4 separate regions of the Homo sapiens genome follow, and regions 1, 2 and 4 are each linked to region 3. The links are contacts of gene promoters, found by promoter capture Hi-C in blood cells and fetal thymus (Javierre and others, 2016). All regions are on one chromosome and are shown on one strand. Each heading gives the region's core, a stretch centred on a gene start or on the middle of the fragment in contact. The rest is flanking DNA. Distances are from core to core; before and after follow the strand shown.

The links. Contacts are between HindIII fragments. The CHiCAGO score rates a contact against its expected background, and 5 or more counts as called.
Region 1: a fragment that was not itself captured here is called in contact with the fragment with the promoter of ZNRF1 in region 3 in 1 of 17 cell types (M1 macrophages); the score reaches 5.5 in M1 macrophages.
Region 2: a fragment that was not itself captured here is called in contact with the fragment with the promoter of ZNRF1 in region 3 in 1 of 17 cell types (fetal thymus); the score reaches 5.2 in fetal thymus.
Region 4: a fragment that was not itself captured here is called in contact with the fragment with the promoter of ZNRF1 in region 3 in 2 of 17 cell types (M1 macrophages and M0 macrophages); the score reaches 6.0 in M1 macrophages.

Annotation. Positions count from the first base shown.
Region 1 is chr16:74,799,165-74,804,701 of GRCh38, forward strand. No RefSeq gene overlaps it. Among named protein-coding and RNA genes, the nearest start is that of FA2H, 27 kb to the left of the region's middle. The HindIII fragment of the contact is 752 bases long and covers 2,924-3,675 here.
Region 2 is chr16:74,816,488-74,821,822 of GRCh38, forward strand. No RefSeq gene overlaps it. Among named protein-coding and RNA genes, the nearest start is that of FA2H, 44 kb to the left of the region's middle. The HindIII fragment of the contact is 2,719 bases long and covers 686-3,404 here.
Region 3 is chr16:74,997,774-75,003,322 of GRCh38, forward strand. ZNRF1 (zinc and ring finger 1) reads left to right here and starts at 1,251. Exons shown (of 5, transcript NM_032268.5): 1 at 1,251-2,322. The coding sequence starts at 1,899. RefSeq lists silencers at 1,043-1,562, 1,963-2,272 and an enhancer at 3,063-3,122. The HindIII fragment of the contact is 6,289 bases long and covers 1-5,345 here.
Region 4 is chr16:75,182,421-75,188,372 of GRCh38, forward strand. No RefSeq gene overlaps it. Among named protein-coding and RNA genes, the nearest start is that of CTRB2, 22 kb to the right of the region's middle. The HindIII fragment of the contact is 4,375 bases long and covers 1-3,703 here.

The DNA.
Region 1 (5,537 bases), core at 2,050-4,549, 200 kb before region 3:
CACAGCAAAGAATATTACCAAGAATAAAAAGTAATCATAATAATTATTAATATATATGATTAAAACAATAAAGTAGCTAATAATCAAGGGACCATAATCTTAAATTTAAAAGAGTAGTAAGATACGCATAACATAAAATTTACCATCTTAAATATTTTTAAATGTACAATTCAGTAGTGTTAAGTATACTCACCTTGTGCAACCATCACTGCCATCCATCTCCAGAACCTTTTCATCTTGTTGCCCCTACACACCTGTGGGTGTTTCTCGTAAGGTGGGACGAGAGATTTGGAAAAGAAAAAGACACAGAGACAAAGTATAGAGAAAGAAATAAGGGGACCCGGGGAACCAGCGTTCAGCATATGGAGGATCCCGCCAGCCTCTGAGTTCCCTTAGTATTTATTCATCATTTGTGGGTGTTTCTCGAAGAGGGGGATGTGTCAGGGTCACAAGACAATTGTGGGGAGAGGGTCAGCAGACAAACACGTGAACAAAGGTCTTTGCATCATAGACAATGTAAAGGATTAAGTGCTGTGCTTTTAGATATGCATACACATAAACATCTCAATGCTTTACAAAGCAGTATTGCTGCCCGCAGGTCCCACCTCCAGCCCTAAGGCGGTTTTTCCCTATCTCAGTAGATGGAGCATACAATCGGGTTTTATACCGAGACATTCCATTGCCCAGGGACAGGCAGGAGACAGATGCCTTCCTCTTGTCTCAACTGCAAGAGGCATTCCTTCCTCTTTTACTAATCCTCCTCAGCACAGACCCTTTACGGGTGTCGGGCTGGGGGACGGTCAGGTCTTTCCCTTCCCACGAGGCCATATTTCAGACTATCACATGGGGAGAAACCTTGGACAATACCTGGCTTTCCTAGGCAGAGGTCCCTGCGGCCTTCCGCAGTTTTTGTGTCCCTGGGTACTTGAGATTAGGGAGTGGTGATGACTCTTAAGGAGCATGCTGCCTTCAAGCATCTGTTTAACAAAGCACATCCTGCACCGCCCTTAATCCATTCAACTCTGAGTTGACACAGCACATGTTTCAGAGAGCACGGGGTTGGGGGTAAGGTTATAGATTAACAGAATCTCAAGGCAGAAGAATTTTTCTTAGTGCATAACAAAATGGAGTCTCCTATGTCTACTTCTTTCTACACAGACACAGTAACAATCTGATCTCTCTTGCTTTTCCCCACAGTTAAGTATACTCACCTTGTGCAACCATCACTGCCATCCATCTCCAGAACCTTTTCATCTTATAAAATTAAAACTTTATACACAATAAACACTTATGTTTTTCTTCTTCCCTCAGCCCCTGGCAACTGCCATTCTATTTTCCGTTTCTATAAATTTGGCTACTTTAGATGCCTCATATATGTGGAATCATACAGTATTTGTCTTTATTTATCTGGATTATTTCAGTAAGCATAATGTTTTCATGGTACATTCATGTTACAGTGTACATGAAAATTTCATTCCATTTTATGGCTGCATAATATTCCATTGTATGGATATACCACATTTTATTTTTGATGAACATTTGGGTTGTTCTCTCCTTTTGGCTATTGTGAACAATGTTACTATGAATTTCAGTGTAAACAATCCTAAATTTTTATATCCATAATAGCAGAAATTCAAAATACAGGAAGGAAAAGTTGACAGAACTGCAAGGAGAACAAATTCATAATTTGTTCATAATTCAAAAACCAATTCATAATTATAGCAAGAGACTTCAGCACCTCTGTCTCTCAATGATTGATACATTATGTAAACAAAATCAGTAAAGGTATAGAAGACTTGAACAATGTTATAAAAACAACTTGAACTAATTGACATTTATGGAACACTCTATCACACAGCAGCAAAATACGTTTTTTTAAAGTTTGCGTGAAACTTTTATCAAGATAGACCATATTCTGGTCCATAAAGCAAGTTCAGTCAATGTATAAGGACTTAAGTCATGCAAAGTATGTTCTCTGACCACAATGGAATTAAATGAGAACTCACTATCAGAAAAATATCTGAAAATACCCTAATATTTAGAAACTAAATATGCTTCTAAATAACTGATGGGAAAAAAAAGAACTCAAAAGGGAAACTAGAAAGTATTTTGCATTGAATGAAAAAGAAAGTATAACTCATAAAAATGTGCTAGATGCAATTAAAGCAGAACTTTCAAGTTTATAGCACCAAACACCAAACATCAAACACCAAACACCTGCACTGGAAAACATGAAAGTTCTCAAATCAATGACCTCAGGTTTAGGAAAGTAGAAACAGAAGAGCAAATTAAACTCGAAGAAAATAGAAGAAAAGAAATATTAAAGATTAAGGCAGAAATCAATGAAGTAGCAAACAAAATTTAAAACAGAGACAATGAAACCAAAGTTAGTACTTTGGGAAGATCAATAAAATTGGGAAATCTCTAGCCAGACCAATAAGGAAGAAAAGAGAAAAGACATAAATTACCAATATCAAGAATGAGAGAGGTGGCTGGGTGCTGTGGCTCACATCTGTAATCCCAGCACTTTGGGAGGCTGAAGTGGGCAGATCACTTGAGGTCAGGAGTTCAAGACCAGCCTGGCCAACATGGTGAAACCTCGTCTCTACCAAAAAATACAGAAATTAGCTGGGCGTGGTGGCATATGGCTGTAGTCCCAGCTACTCGGGAGGCTCAGGAAGGAGAATCGCTTGAACCCAGGATGTGGAGGTTGCAGTGAGCCAAGATCACACTACTGCACTCCAGCCTGGGTGACAGAATGAGACTCCATCTCAACAAAAAAAAGAAAAAAAGGGAGAGGAGAGATCAATAGAATCCGTCATTGTTAAAACATTAGTAAGGGTATATCACAAACAGATTTTTCTCCAATAAATTTGACAATGAGATAAAGTAGACTAATTGTTTGGAAGACACAAACTACCAAAGCTTATTCAAGAAGATATAGATCACCTAAACAGCCCTATAACTGTTAACAAAATTGAATTTATAGTTTAACATGTACACACAAAAGAAATTTTAGATGGCTTCACTGGTTAATTCTATGGAATATTGGCTTCACTGGTAGTTTTACCAAATTTTTTTCAATATCTCTCATAAGGAGAAATACCAAATATGTAAGGAAGAAATAATACCAATTCTACACAAACTCTTCCAAGATTCGAAGAAGTAGCAATACATTCCAACTCATACTTTGAAGTCAACATTACTCTTATACAAAACCAGAAAAAAAAAAAAACATTTTAAAAGGCTAGGCATGGTGGCTCATGCCTGTAATTCCAGTGTTTTGGGAAGCCAAGGTGGGAGGGTCTCTTGAGGCCAGGGGTTTGAGACCAGCCTGGGCAATATAGTGAGACCCTGACTCTATAACAAGTAAAAAAATTAGACAGCTGTGGTGGCACATACCTGGTGTCCCAGCTACTTAGGAGGCTGAGGCAGGAGGATCAATTGAACCCAGGAATTTGAGATTATAGTGAACTGTGATCATGCCACTGCACTCTAGCCTGGGTGACAGAGCAAGACTTTGTCTCTGAAACAAAGCAAAACAAAAAACATTACAAGGAAGTAAAACTATGGACCAACTCATCAACATTATTGCAGAAATTCTTAACAAAACTTATGCAAGTAAAATACAACAATATTTTCAAGAGATAATACATCATGAATTTCAGGAATTCAAGCTTGGTTTAACATTAGAAATTTAATAATATTCACCATATTAACAAACTAAAAAATGTAAAACCATGCAATCCTCTCAATAAGTACAGAAAAAGCATTTGACAAAATCCAGTCAAATCCATTTCCATCATCCAATCATATCTAGTTATCAAAGGAGGAATGGAAGGGAACATCTTCAACCCAATAAAAGATATCTACAAAAATCCAATAGCTAATATCAAATGTAATGGTAAATGATTGAATATATTCCCCCTAATTTCAGGCAGAATGCAAGGATTTCACTCTTACCACTTTTATTCAACATTATACTAAACGTTATATTCAATGCAATGGGCAACAAAAAGAAGTAAAAGACACTCAGATTGGAGAGAAAGAAGTCAAATTGTCTTTATTGGGAGATGACATGACTCAGTCTTTCATGATTAAGTATGATATTAGCTGTGGGATATCTGTAGAAGTCCTTTATTAGGTTGAAGAAATGCTCTTTTAATCCTAGTTTGTCAAATGGTTTTATCATGAATGGTATTGAATTTTGTTAAATGCTCATTTTGCATCTACTGAGTATGTGTTTTTTTCTTTATCCTATTGATATGATATAGTATTCATTTTCAAATGTTAAATGAACTTTACATTCCTAGGATTAATCCCATTTGGTTGTGTTGTATAACCCTTTTTAAATGCTGCTGGATTTGGTTTGCTAGTATTTCATTGAGGTTTTTGTTTATAAGTTCATAAGAGATATTGGTCTATAATTTTCTTTTCTTGTGATGCCTTTGGTATCAGAGTGGTACTGGCATCATAATGAATTAGAAAGTGTTACCTCCTTCCCTATTTTTTTGATGAATTGCAAATAATTGGTATAAATTCTCTAATTGTTTGGCAGAGTTCACCAGTGAATCTGAGCCTAGGCATTTCTTTGTGGATAGTTTTCAAAATTACTAATTCAGTACCTTTATCTATTGTAGGTCTATTCAGATCTTCTATTCCTTCTTGAGTTAGTTTTGATACTTTGTGTTTTTCTGGGAATGTATCCATTTTATATATGTTATCTAATTTGTTGGCATACAGTTATTCTTAGCATTTCCTAATAGTCCTTTTATTTTATTTCTGTAAGGTTGTAGTAATGCTCTCTCTTTATTACTGATTTTTGTAATTTGAGTTCTCTATCTGTCTCCCTCCCTCCCTCTTCAGTCTAGCTAAAGATTTTTGTAATTTGAGTTCTCTGTCTCCTTCCCTCTCTCTTCAGCCTAGCTAAAGATTTGTCCATTTTGTTGATCTTTTCTAAGAACCGACTCTTGGTTTTGTTGATTTTCTCTACGGTTTTTTATTCTCTATTTCATTACTTTCTACCTTAATCTTTATTATTTTCTTCCTCTGCTTGTTTTGGGTTTAGCTTACTCTTCTTTTTGTAGTTTCTTAAGGTGTAAATTTAGGTTATTGGTTTGACATCTTTCTTCTTTTTAAATATAGGTATTTATAGCTATGAATTTCCCTCTAAGCACTGTCTTCACTATATCCCATAAGTTTTGAGATGTTGTGTCTTCATTTTCATTCATTTCAAAATATTTTCAAAACACTATGTACCCCATAATATGTACAATTGTTGTATGTCAATTAAAAAGAAAAGAAAAAGATACTAATTTCCCTTGTCATTTCTTAATTGGCCCACTTGTTATTTAAAAGTGTGCTGTTCAGCTGGTGCAGTGGCTCACACCTGTGATCACAGCACTCTGGGAGGCTGAGGCAGGAGGATCACCTGAGGTCAGGAGTTTGAGACCAGCCTGGCCAACATGGTGAAACACCGTCTCTACTAAAAACTACAAAAATTAGCCTGGTGTGGTGGCGGGTGCCTGTAATCCCAG
Region 2 (5,335 bases), core at 795-3,294, 180 kb before region 3:
TGACAATTTCCACTTCTACCACCTGAATTGGAAATACTTATTTGTCTGGTGGACACCCTGATGAAAGTGGATATTATAAGAAAAGACTGCCAGAGCCTTCCAGGTGATCTTGAAATCTGGGTCAAGCAGTATTCCCGGATAGGATGCCTACAGAAACCCTGGGGCAATGCATGAGGAAACTGCTGGAAGGAGAAAGTTCTTTGTGGCAACCCAGGGACAAACCAAGAGAAGTAACCGGGTGATGTGCCAGGTAGTAGTGTTGCAGCAATGAACAAAGTGCCAGCAGCCCCCACACTGAGCTAACCCAGTCTGATATGGTGACCACAAATAAGTCCTGTGAGGCCTGAGGGTGGGAGGAGATGAACAGTGACATAAGTGTGCAGAAATGAGGACAAGACAGGGTCCTGCCACAGGCGAAGGGGTGGGGTTTTAGGGATGCTGCCTAGGAAGGGACTGGAGGGACAAGATGAGTTTGGGGGTCTTGTAGAGGATTTGATGCTGAAAATAACTCTTTAGAGATAGTAATCCTTTCAGATGCTTCCCACAGTCCACATGGGATTCTGTCTCCCAGCCAGTCAAATCTGGCCTGACCCTCTCCATTTTTTCCTTATGATCTTTGCCCTAGTCTCTCCCATTTGATCTGAGGTCCTCCAGAAGCCATCCATGGCCCCACTGAGCCCCAGGAAGCTTTGAATTGTTTAGTAAGCATATCAATCATGGTCCATTCAGGAAAACAGCAACCACAATAGTTATCTTAGCAGAGAGAATTTAACAGAGAGAATTAACAAATACTGGAGGAAAGGACAAAAGACAGACATTGTAACTTCAGGAAGTAACTCCCACCCCAAGGACTGGGAGAACAAGGGGGAGAGGTGGGTTTATTAGAACCTAGGAATAGATAGGGGAGTCTAGGGGGAAACCTCAGCTCAGGCTTCCGAGGAGAGGGCACTGCCAGGCGGGTGCTGGTGCCTTAGAAGGTGGATGGATGGTCCTGAGAGCCAGGACCCAGATCCTTATGGAGTGGGCACTGCCTGGCTGCTGCTGCTTTCTCTGATGGGGGTGATGAAGCTGGCTTGGGGAGCATAAAAAGTGTCACTCTCAGAGGGCCAGGCACAATGGCTCATGCCTCTAATCCCAGCACTGTTGGAGGCCGAGGCGGGTGGGTTGCTTGAGTCCAGGAGTTCAAGACCAGCCTGGGCAACATGGCAAAACCCTGTCTCTACAAAAAAACAAAAACAAAAATTAGCCAGGCGTGGTAGATTGGGCCTGTGATCCCAGCTACTTGGGAGGCTGAGGTGGGAGGATCGCTTGAGTCTGGGAGGTGGCTATAACCGACACAGTGCCACTGCACTCCAGCCTGGGCGACAGAGCCAGACGCTGACTCAAAAAAAAAAAAAAAAAAAAAAAAAAGTGTCACTCTCAGGGTAAAGAACAGATGCTGTGGTGACGTTGGCGGGAATGGAGAGCAGAACAGGATGAAGCTGCTGCCTTCTCCCATCTTCCAGCATTTCAGTCTCCCTCTAGTGCCACTTAGTGGTGCTTGGGCTCTGCCGAGAACCCAAGGTGGAGCCGCTGAGGGCAGAAACGTGGATTCCAGAGTCCCTTGATCTTGATCTGAATGTGCCCCATGCCCCTAGCTGAGTGCACATCTTCTTGTCCTCTCTGATAGCCAGGGCCACACAGCCGCTAGTTCCTTATCCCCCACCCCAAGAACTCCAAGCATTACTGCCTGCCCTGCTTCCAGAAGTAGCACACCCAAGAAATTCAAGCGAGAGCCCCTATCTCTAACAGACCCTGCTCCGTCCCTATTTTGGAGCACTGAGAGTTTTTCTATTCCTCCCCCTGTTCCTTCTAAACCAAAAAAGTTCATGGTCTTGTTGAAAAGCCCATTTCCCTAAGAAACCTCCTCTACTCTATATACACACATTGGTCCTGACTTCATAGTCTAGTAACCTCAAGATGAAGTTTCCCCTTCATCTTTTTTTAAATTAATACATAATAATCCTATTTATGAGGTACATAGTGATGTTTCAAACATATAATACGTGGTGATCAGATTAGGATAATTCCATATTCCACATATCCATCATCTCAAGCATTTATCTTTTATTAGTGTTGTGAATATTCAATATCCTCCTGGCTATTTGAAACTACGTGTTCTTGTTAACTATAGTCATCTTACAGTGGTTTATTCAGAGAACTGATGAACTTTCCCTCCTATCTAGCTGTAATTTTGTATCCTTTAACAAAGGTCTCCTTTTGCCACCCTTTCCCCACCCTTCCCAGCCTCTAGTAGAAAGTTTTACTTTCAACTTCCATGAGATCAACTTTTTTTTAGCTTCCACATGAGTGAGAAAATGCAGTGTTTAACTTTCTATCCCTGGCTTGTTTCACTTAACGTAATGTCCTCCAGTTCCATCCATGTTGCCACGAATGACAGGATTTCATTCTTTTTATGGCTGAATAACATTTCATTGTGTACATACCACATTTTCTTTATCCATTAATCTGTTGATGGACACCTAGGTTGATTCCATATCTTGGCTATTGTGAATAGTATTGCAGTAACCATGGGGATGCAGATCTCCTTGATAGACCGATTTCCTTTCCTTTGGATAAATGTCCAGTAGTGGGATTGCTGGATCTTATGGTAGCTCTACTTGTGGTTTTTTGAGGAGCCTCCATACTGGTCTCCATAGTGGCTTTACTGGTTTACATTTTTTTTTTTTTTTTTGGAGATGGAGTCTCGTTCTGTCACCCAGGCTGGAGTGCAGTGGTATGATCTCAGCTCACTGCAACCTCCACCTCCCAGGTTCAAGCGATTCTCCGGCCTCAGCCTCCCGAGTAGCTGGGATTACAGGAGCTTGCCACCAGGCCTAATTTTTTATATTTTTAGTAGAGATGGGGTTTCACCATGTTGGCCAGGCTGGTCTTGAACGCCTGACCTCAGGAGATCTGCCCGCTTCGGCCTCCCAAAGTGCTGGGATTACAGGCATGAGCCACTGTGCCCGGGCTTACTGGTTTACATTTTCACCAGCAGTGTATAAGAGTTCCCTTTTCCCCACATCCTTGCCAGCATTTGTTTTTTGTCTTTTTGATAACAGCCATTCTAGCTGGGGTGAGATGATACTCCACTGTGGCTTTGATTTGCATTTCCCGGATGATTAGTTACATGGAGCATTTTTTCCATCTATTTGTTGGCCCATTTGTATGTCTTCTTTTGAGAAATATCTGTTCAAATCACCATTTTAAAATCAGATTTGTTTTTTGTTTTTTTGCTGTTGAGATGTTTAAATTCCTTGTATATTCTGAATATGAATCTCCTGTCAGATGAATAGTTTGCAAATATCTTCTCCCATTCTGTAGGTTGTCTTTTCACTCTATTGTTTCCTTTGCTATGCAGAAGCTTTTTAGTTTGATGTAATCCCATTTGTTTATTTTTGCTTTTGTTGCCTGTGTTTTTGAGGTCTTATTCATAAAATATTTCCGCAGACTAATGTCCTAAAGCATTTCCCCTATGTTTTCTTCTAGTAGTTTTATATTTTGGGTCTTACCTTTAGTTCTTTGATCCACTCTGAGTTGATTTTTGTATAGCATGAGAGATGAGTGTCTAGCTTTGTTCTTCTGCATATGGATACCCAGTTTTCCTGGCACTATTTATTGAAGAGATTGTCCTTTCCCCAGTGAGTGATCTTGGCACCTTTGTCAAAAATCAGTTGGCTATAGATACATGGATTAATTTTTGCATTCCCTGTTCCACTAGTTTGTGTCTATTGTGCTGTTTTGGTTACTATAGCTTTGTAGTATGTTTTGAAGTCTGGTAGTGTGATACCTCCAGCTTTGTTCCTTTTGCTCAGGATTGCTTTGGCTATTTGGGGTCTTTTGTGATTCCATACAAATTTTAGGATTTTCTTTTCTATTTCATTGAAGAATGTCTTTGGTATTTTAATAAGAATGGCACTGAATCTGTAGATTGCTTTGAGTGGTATGGTCATTCTAACAATATTGATTCTTCCATCTATGAGCATGGGAGGTCTTTCTGCCTGTTTTTATCCTCTTCAATTTCTTTCATCAGTGTTTTGTAGTTTCCCTTGTAGATGTCTTTCACCCCCTCGGTTAAATTTATTCGTAAATATTTTAATTTTTGTAGCTACTGTAAATGGGATTGACTTCTTGATTTATTTTTCAGGTAGTTTGTTGTTTGTGTATAGAAACACTACTGGTTTTTGTGTGTTGATTTTTGTATCCTGCAGCTTTAGAGAATTTATTTATTAGTTCTAAGCGTCTTTTGGTAGAGTCTTTAAGTTTTTCTATATATAAGATTACGTTGTCTGCCAACAGGGACAATTTGACTTTATCCTTTCCAATCTGGATGCCCTTTATTTCATTCTCTTGCCTAATTGCTCTGAATCCTCTTCATCTTGATAAGGTATCTCCAAGATAATTTCTCTCTACCTTAGAGATAAGGAAAATGTGACATGAGAACAGCCAGATGAATATTTGTCCAAAGAGTAGTCTGATTCTCATGCAGCCTTGGGGAGAAGCCATAGACAGGACTGAGGTGCCATGCTGTCTTTCCCAAAGTGTGACGGTAGCAGACCTGGTGCCCTGCCCGTATTTTCTTTCCTGGGCTGGTACACCTTGCCCTCTAGCTCCTGGGTGTTGCCACTGCTCACACCTACCTCTTTCTCTTGCTCTTGGTGGATAGAGCGCCTTGTCTGGAGATGCCTTGAAGGTTATGCACCATCTTCAGGGCGCAGCCTGTGGCCAATGACTAATGGAGGTGGGTATGTAACAGCCCAGCCCCCTTATCTTGGCAGGGGTACAGGGGCAACCTCTGTAGTAGAGTTTATTATACTCCAGTGGTCCCTGTGGGGTTGGGCTAAGGCTAAACTTAGCTTGAACTTGCATCTTTGCTTGGCTTATTCCCTGCCCTATACAAGTTTCTCCAGAGATCCCTCCCTCAAAAATCATGTACACAAGAATCACCATTTCAGGTCTTGCTTCTGGAAAACCCAAACTATAACAGTGTCCCGTCCAACACCAGTCCTCTGAGATATTGATGAGAAATAAATTTAATGGCCAAGTAAATTTGAGCAACTCTGCAATTTTATTCTTCTCCTAGAGAGTCAAAATACCTATTAAAGGTCCTGAAAAATCCTGCAATGAAGAAACCTGCTTACCCTTGTTCCATCCTACCAACATCAGACACTTTAGGGAGACCCATCCAGGCAATGTGCCTCAAGGAGCCAGTCAAGCTCAGAAGGAGTAGGAGAGGGGATAGGAAAGGGGTATTGGGCAGAATCACTATTCTAGAGTATTCTAAGAAAAAAGT
Region 3 (5,549 bases), core at 1-2,500:
AGCCTGGGAGGAGCAAGGCTCCGTCTCAAAAAAAAAAAAAAAGAAAAGAAAAAAAAGAAAAAGAAAAACAGGGCGGGCGCGGTGGCTCATGCCTGTAATCCTAACACTTTGGGAGGCCAAGGCAGGTGGATTACCTGAGGTCAGGAGTTCAAGACCAGCCTGGCCAATACGGTGAAACCCCGCCTCTACTAAAAATACAAAAAATTAGCCAGGTGCAGTGTGGCATGTGCCTGTAATCCCAGCTACTCGGGAGGCTGAGGCAGGAGAATCACTTGAATCCGGGAGGCGGAGGTTGCGGTGAGCCGAGGTTACGCCACACCACTCCAGCCTGGGTGACAGGGCGAGATTACGTCTCAAAAACAAAAACAAAACAAAACAAAAAAAACAGTTGTTCAATAAATGAATGTGAATATAGGAGAAAGACGGCTTGAGGTAGCAAAGGAACACTCCCTTGCAAATGATTCAGGCTTGGTCAACAATACACCTATTGAGTACCCACCGTGTCCTTGGCCCGTGGTGAGGGCCGAAACACAGCACATGGTAAACAAAACAGGGCTCCAGCCTTGGACAGAAGGTTTCTATAATCACTTCTAGCTGCGTTGTTCTATTTCCATACCCATATCTATTCACTTTTTATGGTACATCTATTGATTCTGAAAATTACATTTTAGCTAAGGAATCTACTCATTTGCTTAAGCCCAAAATAGGAAGTTATGATCTAGTGTCAGCAAAACGCCGGATTCACAAGTGTCCCCATGGCGCTGTTTACCCCCAAATAACTAAACCCCGCCAAATGTTGAGATTCCGGACGTGAGGGGTGCTTGGATGGGGAACCCCCGAAAGAATGGACATCACGTCCACCAGAGGGTGCTGTGGGGGCAAATTTGTGCCAGGAGGGGAGCTCGACCGGTGACCCTCAGAGCCAGGTAGGCGTAAGGAGTAAATCTCCTTCTTCCCGGTGTTTCCTTCCCACCCCCTCGAACCATTGCTGCCCCTCCCCCATACTTGGTTCCCCCTGAATAATTTGCCACTTTCGGGGACTTAAGAAGTGTTTGCTTTTGAAAGACATCTGGTTTCTGTGGCTAACGCCCAGTGGTCAGGCCGCCCAGGTCACAGGCCGGCCGGGGGCGGGCGGTGGGTGGGGACTGCTGGGGCGTCAGCGGCCCAGGCGCCGCAGGGACCGCGAAAGGGTTAACCCGGCGGGGGGAGGGGGAGGGGGCGCGGGCCGCGCCTGCGCTCTGCCGCCCTCCATTGTCTCCACGGCGGCGAGGAGCGCCGGCGAGCGCAGCCCGGGACCGAGCGGGGCGGCGCGGCTGGCGGGGCCGGCGGCGGCTGAAGCGAGAGCGCGACGCGACGCGACCGCGGCTTCCCGAGCTGCGCCTGGCCGCCCAGCGCCGCGGCCCGCCCGAGGCCTGGAGGGGTCCGGGCCGCCGTCCATGGTCGCGGCGTCCTGAGGCGGGGGACGCGCCCGGCGCCCCCGGCCCTCCTCCGCCTCCTCCCGCGGGGCGGGCGGCCTCCTCCGGCGCCTCCCCGCGCCCGCCCGCCGCTCGCCGCCGCCTCCCTCCCTCCTTCCCTGCGGCTCCCCCGGCTTTCGGAGCCCGGGGGCGGCCTGTGGCGCGCGGAGCCCGCGCCGGACTGCGCCTCTTTGGACCTTGAGGGGAAACATGCGTTTGCCTTGGATCGTTTGAAATTCTGAGTTTGGGATCCCCGCCCGCCCGCCTGCCTCTTCCGCCCCGCGGGTTTTTTCCTTTTTTCCTTTTGCTTTTTTTCCTTTTCTCCCTCCGGGTCTCCTTTTTGACTCCCTCCCCCTTTATGCTCGCCCAGCCCTCCCCCTGCTGCTGAGAAGTGGGGGAGGGTCTCGGCCTCCAGGTTCCCGCCCCACCGGGGCCCGGGCGAGCATGGGGGGCAAGCAGAGCACGGCGGCCCGCTCCCGGGGCCCCTTCCCGGGGGTCTCCACCGATGACAGCGCCGTGCCGCCGCCGGGAGGGGCGCCCCATTTCGGGCACTACCGGACGGGCGGCGGGGCCATGGGGCTGCGCAGCCGCTCGGTCAGCTCGGTGGCAGGCATGGGCATGGACCCCAGCACGGCCGGGGGGGTGCCCTTTGGCCTCTACACCCCCGCCTCCCGGGGCACCGGCGACTCCGAGAGGGCGCCCGGCGGCGGAGGGTCTGCGTCCGACTCCACCTATGCCCATGGCAATGGTTACCAGGAGACGGGCGGCGGTCACCATAGAGACGGGATGCTGTACCTGGGCTCCCGAGCCTCGCTGGCGGATGCTCTACCTCTGCACATCGCACCCAGGTGGTTCAGCTCGCATAGTGGTGAGTCCGCGGGTGGTGGAGGCCTCGGAGGGAGGGCGCGCCGGGGCGCCCCAAGCCTTCGCGTGCGTGCCAAGGTTTGGGAATGTAGTGCACGACCGGGATCTGTCTGCATTCCCTTTGGTTCCCGATGCCAAGGGATAAATGGGATACCTACCGTCTGGAAACTAGGCTTTCTGCGAGGCTGCGGAGCCTGGCGATTTAGGGACTCACGGCGTGTGTTCACTTGTGGAAGGGCAGAGCGAAGCCTACCTATTGGAGTTCCATTTATTGGCATCACCCTCCTCAGAGAAGAGGTCGTGTCTGGCTGAGAGCAAGTCAGCCTGGGTACTTCCATTCTGCCACTGCAGCACTGTGCCTGCCTCACCGGTAACGGAGAGATGGAGCCAGTTGGAGCAAGCAGTGTCTCCTAAACAGAGTGTGTGAAAATGAAATAAAATCAGGGGCAAGTGATGCCTGGATTAGGGCTCTCACTCTTGCTGGGAGAGAGAGGTGCCCAGTTTTGCCACCCTGCTGGAGATCTGTTTGAAATGTTTAAAATGGAGCAGCCGGCAGGCGGCTGGCATAGACAGGTGTGGCTGCTGTACGGAGGGCCCAGCCGGCGAGTCTCGCGGGGGCTTTGCAGGACCCGGGCTGTGGTCACCCGTACTGCATGCAGCAGGCTTGGCTCCGCGACTCTCGCCTCCCTCCATCTTTTTTTCTTCTGCTCCATGCTAAGTGCTTGGTCTTCCCGTGAATCTGCATCTTTTTGTAACAGGGAGCCTGTCACGGTGGGGCATTATTGCCTGGCTGTTGGCACATGACTGGGGAAAAGGAGGATTCAGAGAATCTGGATGAATTCATTTTATGAACTTCTGGTGACAGGCCAGCAAAAGGTTGGAGGGGGATTTCCCAGGCTCCTAGCGGGAGGGCAAAAAAGGCCTGGCAGGAGGAAAACAGGTCTGTCTGCTAGGTCAGGCATCTAGAAAATTGGCCAAAAGGGATGTGGGGGCCGCTATTTGCTAATTGGCAAGTTGAGTGATGAAGTTACATCTTAAGATTCTTTTGGGTGAGTTGGGAAAATTTAGATAGTGTAGGGGAAAGATTGCTCCTGCCTTTAGGGTACTTTATGGAGGGTAATATCTGTTGGATCACTCTTTTAACTACTGTGAAATAGGGTTGACTTTTGGGGTATCTCTTTCCCCCCCCCTGCAAATAGCCTGGGGTTTGTTTTCATTTGGTTTGGTTTTTTGTCAATTCTGTAAACTTTAATTTGTGAAATAGTGTTGGGGGAGAAACGATTAGTGACTAATTTAGGGTAACACTTAGAAGTAGCTTGTGAATTGTTAGGATGATATTTTAATCTCTGACAGACCTCCGGATATCATTGGAGCTTTTCTGACCTCATGGAACTCTGCCCTGAGTGAGAAGCAGGACATGATTGCCTTTGGCTCTTTCAGGCATTTGATCAAAATTAGGCATTTTGAAATTAATAATTTTTCCTATGGAATTTAGTCCAGAGAGTTAGCCATATTTTTGAGATGACTAGTTTGGTGTTTAAAAGAACTGTAATGAGCATCTGGTTTTGAACTTAAAAGTACTGTAAGAAGTTTCTCTAAAATCACAGAATTTTTTGTGTTGAAAAACATATGAGATATGTAGGGAGGAAGAAAGGGAGTGCTTTTTTTGCTAAAATTTCTTAAGCCTCTTACTAAAAATTTATTTATTATGCTACTACCAGGTTCCATGCTACAGTTATGAGCTTGTAGTTGGATTCCAGAATTTCACTCTTAAGCTGTGAAACCTTATTTTTTTTCATCCGATCATGGTGAGGGTAGGGAGAGCCACTGAACTGTGGGGACAGGAAGGTTGGAGCATATTAATCCTTTAGGGAAGGGTGTCAAAAGTGTGTATGGGAGGCTGCTATTAATATTGTAGGTAATCCATTCCTTACTGTGTAGGACCATCATGTCCTTCTGCAAGACATCGAGCATACCTACTAAATGCTGATAGCATCCAGCAGTTCAGTGTGTCACCCCAAAATGTCCCCAAGAATTCCCAAATGCCCTCTGGGGTGTGGGTGGTATCACTCTGGTTGAGAACCACTGCTTTAGGGATTTATTCTTTTATTCACATAAAGTAATTGGCTTTTCCTGTGCATTTCATTTGAGATGAATCTTCGTGTGCAGCATTGGTTCCATCTCACCTGAAACAGACCATGGGATCTTCCAGGACATCTGTTTCCTCTGTTACACATTGCTGCAAGAAGCAAAACTTGTTTCTGCTTTGGAGCCTTTGAGTAAGGTCTAAGCAGCTTTTGCTCTTCTGTTGCAAGATTGGAAGGGTAACGATTTTGGTGCACAATTAATTAGATGCCTGGAAGTTGATATGATATGTTTGCTTGTGTTTTCAAGGTGCTCTTGCAACTCTTCATGGGCACAGAAAACAGTTGTCAGTGAAATACATGAGGGAGTTCAGTGTATACAAGGCCTTCTCAGAGAGCGTGGGCTTAGGCTGGGTCTGGAGGTAGAATACTGAAGGGCCCTGGTCCCAGCTACTCCTCTGAGCAGCTGTGACCTTGGGCAAGACATATCCCCTCTCTTGAGCCTTATCTTTGTCGTTTTTAAAATAGTTGTGGTCACCCTCACGAGCTCCAGCCTTGCTCCGCAAATCCCGGGAGAGGAAGCGCTGTAGTCACATTTGTCTTCTCTAGGTTCCTGACTTCCCTGTGCTGTGACCCCCACGTATACCATTCCCTAATCCTAGAGTGCTTTTCTCTCCGTTCTTCACACGAATTTCTCTTTCTGATCCCTTAGGGCTTAGAGACCACTCTTAAAAATTGGCCCCTCCGGTTATTCTCTCCAGTCACTCACCTGTTACCTTAATCATTCTTTTTTTTGAGACAGAGTTTCGCTCTTGTTGCCCAGGCTGGAGTGCAGTGGTGCGACCTCTGCTCACTGCAGTCTCCGCCTCCCGGGTTCAAGCAATTCTCCTGCCTCAGCCTCCCGAGTAGCTGGGATTACTGGCATGCGCCACCATGCCCAATAAGCTTGGGGCTAATTTTGTTTTTTGTAGAGACGGGATTTCTCCATGTTTATCAGGCTGGTCTCAAACTCCCGACCTCAGGTGATCTGCCTGACCCGGCCTCCCAAAGTGATAGGATTACAGGCGTGAGCCACTGCGCCCTGCACCTTAATCATTCTTAACACACTTTGTAAGTATTTTATCTGTTTACTTTTTTCTGTGTATGG
Region 4 (5,952 bases), core at 266-2,765, 180 kb after region 3:
AAAAGGAAACAATCAAAAGAGTGAAAAGACAACCTTTAGAATGGGGAGAATTATTTGCAAATCATAGTCTGATAAGGGATATCTAAAATATAAGGAACTCAGACAACTCAATAGCAAGAAAACAAATAACCCAATTAAAGAGCAAAGGACCTAAATAGACACTTCTCAAAAAGAAGACTTACATATGCCTGACAGGTATATGAAAAAATGCTCAGTGTCATTAATTATCAGGGAAACGCAGATTAAAACTACAATGAGGTATCACCTCACACCTTGTTAGAATGGCTATTAGCAAAACAGTGAATAAATATGGACCAAGTGCGGTGGCTCATGCCTATAATCCCAGTACTTTGGGAGGCCGAGGCGGGTGGATCACCTGAGGTCAGGAATTCGAGACCAGCCTGGCTAACATCGTGAAACCCCGTTTCCACTAAAAATAGAAAACATTAGCCGGGCGTGGTGCCCTGCACCTCCTGTAATCCCAGCTCTTGGGAGGCTGAGGCAGGAGAATTGCTTGAACCCGGGAGGCAGAGGTTACAATGAGCCAAGATCACAGGATCGCACTCCAGCTTGGACAACAAGAGCGAAACTCCGTCTCCAAAAAAAAAAGTGTGTGTGAGGATGTGGAGAAAAAGGAAGTCTCACAAAGTTGATGAGAATGTAAATTAGTACAGCCATTATGGAAAATACTATGGAAGCTCCTCAATAACTTAAATAGAACTACCATGTGACCCAGCAATTCCACTACTGGGTATATATCCAAAGGAAACGAAATTAGTCTGTCAAAGAGATATCTGCACTTTCATGTTCATTGCAGCATTATTCACAACAGCCAAGATATGAAATCAACCTAACTATCAATGGATGAATGGATAAAGAAGATGTGTTCTACATACACAATGGAATACTACTGAGCTTTAAAGAAGGAAGCTCTGGCCAGGTGCAGTGGCTCATGCCAGTAACCACAGCACTTTGGGAGGCTGAGTCGGGTAGATTGCTGGAGTCCAGGAGTTCAAGACCAGCCTGGCCAACATGACAAAACCCTTTCTCTAAAAATACAAAACAAAAATTAGCCAGGCATGGTGGCACATGCCTGTAGTCCTAGCTACTTGGGAGGCTGAGGCAGCAAGATCATTAGAGCTTTGGATACAAAGGTTGCAGCAAGCCAATATTGCACCATTATACTCCAGCCTGAGTGACAGAGCAAGACCCTGTCTCAAAAAATAAAGGAACTTATTTGCCACAACATGGGTGAACCTAGAGGACTTTATGCTAAGTGAAATAAGCCTGGCATGGAAAGACAAATACCACATGACCTCACTTATATGTGGAATCTAAAAAAGTTGAACTCATAGAAGCAGAGAACAGAATAGTGATTACCAGGGGCTAGGGGTGTGGGAGGGGATAAGAGAAATGTTGGTGAAAAGATACACAATTTCAGTTTAATAGGAGGAATAAATTTAATCTATTGGCCAGGCGCCGTGGCTCAAGCCTGTAATCCCAGCACTTTGGGAGGCCGAGGCGGGCGGATCACGAGGTCAGGAGATTGTGACCATCCTGGCTAACACGGTGAAACCCCGTCTCTACTAAAAATGCAAAAACAAAAATTAGCCGGGCGTGGTGGTGGGCGCCTGTAGTCCCAGCTACTCAGGAGGCTGAGGCAGGAGAATGGCGTGAATCCAGGAGGCAGAGCTTGCACTGAGCCATGATCGTGCCGCTGCACTCCAGCCTGGGCGAGAGAGCAAGACTTTGTCTCAAAAAAAAAAAAAAAAGAGAGATCTATTAAGAGAGGAGGTCTCACTATGTTGCCCAGGCTGGTCTCAAACTCCTGGGCTCAAGCAATTCTCCCACGTCAGCATCCTAAGTAGCTGGGACTACAGGCTGTATCACTGTGCCTGACTGTAATATATTCCGGAAAAATCAATGAGTAGATTTTAAATATTCACACCACAAAAATACATGTAATACATATGTAAATTAGTCTGATTTAGTCATTCTGCAATGTATACATTTGTAAACATCATGTTAGATACAATAAACATACTTTTTTTTTTTTTTTTTTTTTTTTTTTAAGACAGTCTTGCCCTGTCACCCTGGCTGGTGTGCAGTGGTGCAATCTCGGCTCACAGCAACCTCCACCTCCCAGGTTCAAGCAATTCTCCTGCCTCGGCCTCCCAAGTAGCTGGAACTACAAGCGTGCTCCACCATGCTTGGCTAATTTTTGTATTTTTAGTAAAGATGGAATTTTGCCTTGTTGGCCAATCAGGTGATCCACCCACATTGGCCTTCCAAAGTGCTGGGATTACAGGCAATGAGGCACCACACCTGGCCCCAATAAACACAATTTTATAAGTCAGTTTTTAAAAGTTAATGAAAAACAAATCTAAAGAACTTGAGGGGATAAAGGAGTGTGAAAAGTGGTAGACTGAAAAGACTATGTTTCCATGGGGTAGGATTGTTAGGGTACTAGAGAAAATCTGGTTGAGTGAGGAATGCATGAAACATTACAAACAGGTTGCTATTACTAGTAGCAAGATTAATGTGTCCGAGAATAACTGGCTGAAGGAGGGAGGAGTACAGGCTCATTGGAAAAGTGGAGATGAAGAAACTGAAAAGCCAAGTATTAAATCTACATAAGCATTAAAATTATCAATTCAGATGGTAGTGTTAGAGTGGGAACTAAAATTTAAGAGATCCAGGGATCAGAAGATGACTGCTTTAAGTATCACGTGGTACGGTCTGATGGCCTGAGCATCCATGCCATGGGGTGTCAGAGAAGATGAAAGGAGAATGGTCTGGAAGCAGCGAGAAGGACATCTTCCCACCCCCAGGACCAGTGTTAAAGGGTGAAGTAGAAAAGTATAGGGAATGTTCATTAATACATAGGAAATTCTGGCCGGGCACGGTGGCTCACGCCTATAATCCTAACACTTTGGAAGGCCGAGGCTGGTCCATCAGTTGAGGTCAGGAGTTCGATACCAGCCTGGCCAACACAGTGAAACTCTGTCTCTACTAAAAAAAAATACAAAAATTAGTCAGGAGTGGTGGTGCATGCTTATAGCCTCAGCTACTGGGGAGGCTGAGGCAGGAGAATCACTAGAACCTGGGAGGCGGAGGCTGCAATGAGCCGAGATTGCACCACCGCACTCCAGCCTAGGGGACAGAGCAAGACTCCATCTCTCTCTCTCTTTTTTTTTTTTTTTTTTTTTTTTAGACAGAGTCTTGCTCTGTCCCCTAGGCTGGAGTGCAGTGGTACAATTTCGGCTCATTGCAACCTCCGCCTCCCGGGTTCAAGCGATTCTTCTGCCTCAGCCTCCCAAGTAGCTGGAACTACAGGCATGCACCACCACGTCCGGCTAATTTTTGTATTTTTAGTAGAGACGGGGTTTCACCATGTTGTTCAGTCTGTTCTTGAACTCCTGACCTCGTGATCCACCCGCCTCAGCCTCTCAAAGTGCTGGGATTACAGGCATGAGCCACCACGCCCAGCCCAAGACTCCATCTCAAAGAAAAAAAGACATAGGGAATTCTGCCCTAACCTCTGTGGTGAGTTCCAGAGGGCACAGAGGAAGATCTCTAGAAGTTGGGGAGAAGCAAGAGATGGACTCAGAAAGGGATGTAAGTGGAGGAAGTTTAGAGTGGGATCAGGCAGGGGGTGACCCAGGAATCCTGAGCCTCTTATAACTGAGCCAATAAGGACAAAAGCTTTAATGAGATCAGACCTGATAGTCTCAGAAAATGGTGGAGAAGCTGGAGTCTTGGGAGGAGGAAAGGGTAGGCATCTTGCCAAGAGCACCCAGAGTTCTGGGCCCTTCTTCACTCCTGCTAATAGAAATGAGGAAGCCTGGGGAGGTGGGTCTGACTTGGAGCACTTGAGGCTCCTTCTTGATCCTTGCCACGAGGTCATATGAGGAATATTTGAATACCATATGGTTCCTTACATACGGTAGATACCATAGAGCTCCTAAGAGTGAAAGTAGTCAGACTAATTGTGTTGACCTGGAAAAATGTTTGATAGAGTTTTAAAAGCAAGTTGCCAAAAATGTATGTATACACACACAGACAGTTGGCTTTCTGTATCCATGGATTCTGCATCTGAGGATTCAGCCAACCTTGGGTTGAATATTCAGGGAACAAAGAAAAAAATGGATGGTTGCATGTGTATTGAACACACATAGACCTTTTGTCATTATTCCCTAAATATAATGACTATAGAGCATTTAAATTGTATTAGGTATTGTAAGCAGTAGGGATGATTTAAGGTATACTAGAGGGTGTGCATAGATCACAAATACTATACCATTTTATATCAGGGACTTTAGCTTTTGGATTTTGGTATCTGCAGGAGGTCCTGGAACCAGTTCCTCATGGATTATCAAGGGACACATACACATAAATACACATACACACGGAGGGGGAGAAATGAGATGGAGGAAGGAAGATGTGACAACATACAATTGGCTAATCTAGATGAAGAGTGTATGGGTGTTCATTATACAGTCTGTTCTATACAAAATTCTAATTTTCTAATTTTGAATGAAAGAATGTTACAAGATATTATGTATAGCATTTTTTATAGAATATGTATATACATATGGAAGTATGTTATAAACTTAGACAAAAACCAGGAAGTATAACTGCCTGACATGTTCTCCTTGCCCACTGCCCAGATAGAGCCAATTTATCAAGACAGGGCAATTGTAATAGAGAAAGAGTTTAATTCATGCAGAACTGGCTGACCAAGACCGGAGTTTTATTACTCAAATCAGTCTCCCTGAAAATTCGGAGACTCGGGTTTTTTAAGGATAATTTGGTGGGTAGGGGGTCAGGGAGTGGGGTGTGCTGATTGGTTGGGTCTAGAGATGAAATAAGGGGTCAGCCGGGGGCGGTGGCTCACGCCTGTAATCCCAGCACTTTGGGAGGCCAAGGCGGGTGGATCACCTGAGGTCAGGAGTTTGACACCAGCCTGGTCAACATGGTAAAACCCTATCTCTACAAAAACACAAAAATTACCCGGGTGTGGTGGCTTGCACCTTAATCCCAGCTACTCAGGAGGCTGAGGCACGAGAATCGCCTGAACCCAGGAGGTGGAGGGAACAGTGAGCCAGGATCATGCCACTGAACTCCAGCCTGGGCAATAAGAGTGAAACTCCAGCCCGGGCAATAAAAGTGAAACTCCATCTCAAAAAATAAATAAAGAAGAGGTCAAAGTGGGTTCTTGCCATCTTCTGTTCCTTGGTGGGATCACAGAACTTATTGAATGACATGACCAGATTACCATTCTGGGTGGCACTAGCTGGTACATCAGAATGCAGGGTCTGAAAGATATGTGAGCACCAATCTTAGATTTTACAATAGTGATGTTATGGGGAGATTTGCAATCTTGTGGCCTCTGGCTACAAGACTCCTAAACCACAATTTCTAACCTCATGGCTAATTTGTTAATCTTACAAAGGCTGTCTAGTCCCCAGGCAAGAAGGGGGTTTGTTTTGCAAAAGGGCTGTTGTCTTTGTTCCAAAGTTAAACTATAAACTCCAGGCCGGGTACGGTGGCTCACACCTGTAATCCCAGTACTTTGGGAGGCCAAAGGGGGCAGATCATGAGGTCAGGAGATTGAGACCATCCTGGCTAACACGGTGAAACCCCATCTCTACTAAAAATACAAAAAAATTAGCCGGGTGTGGTGGGGAGCACCTGTAGTCCCAGCTACTTGGGAGGCTGAGGCAGGAGAATGGCGTGAACCCAGGAGGCGGAGCTAGCAGTGAGCTGAGATCACGTCACTGCACTCCAGCCTGGGTGACAGAGCAAGACTCCATCTCAAAATAAATAAATAAAAATAAAAAATAAATAAACTCCTCCCAAAGCTAGTTCAGCCCATGTCCAGGAATGACCAAGGGCAGCTTGGAGGTTAGGAGCAAGATGGAGTTCGTTAGGTTAGATCCCTTTCATTGT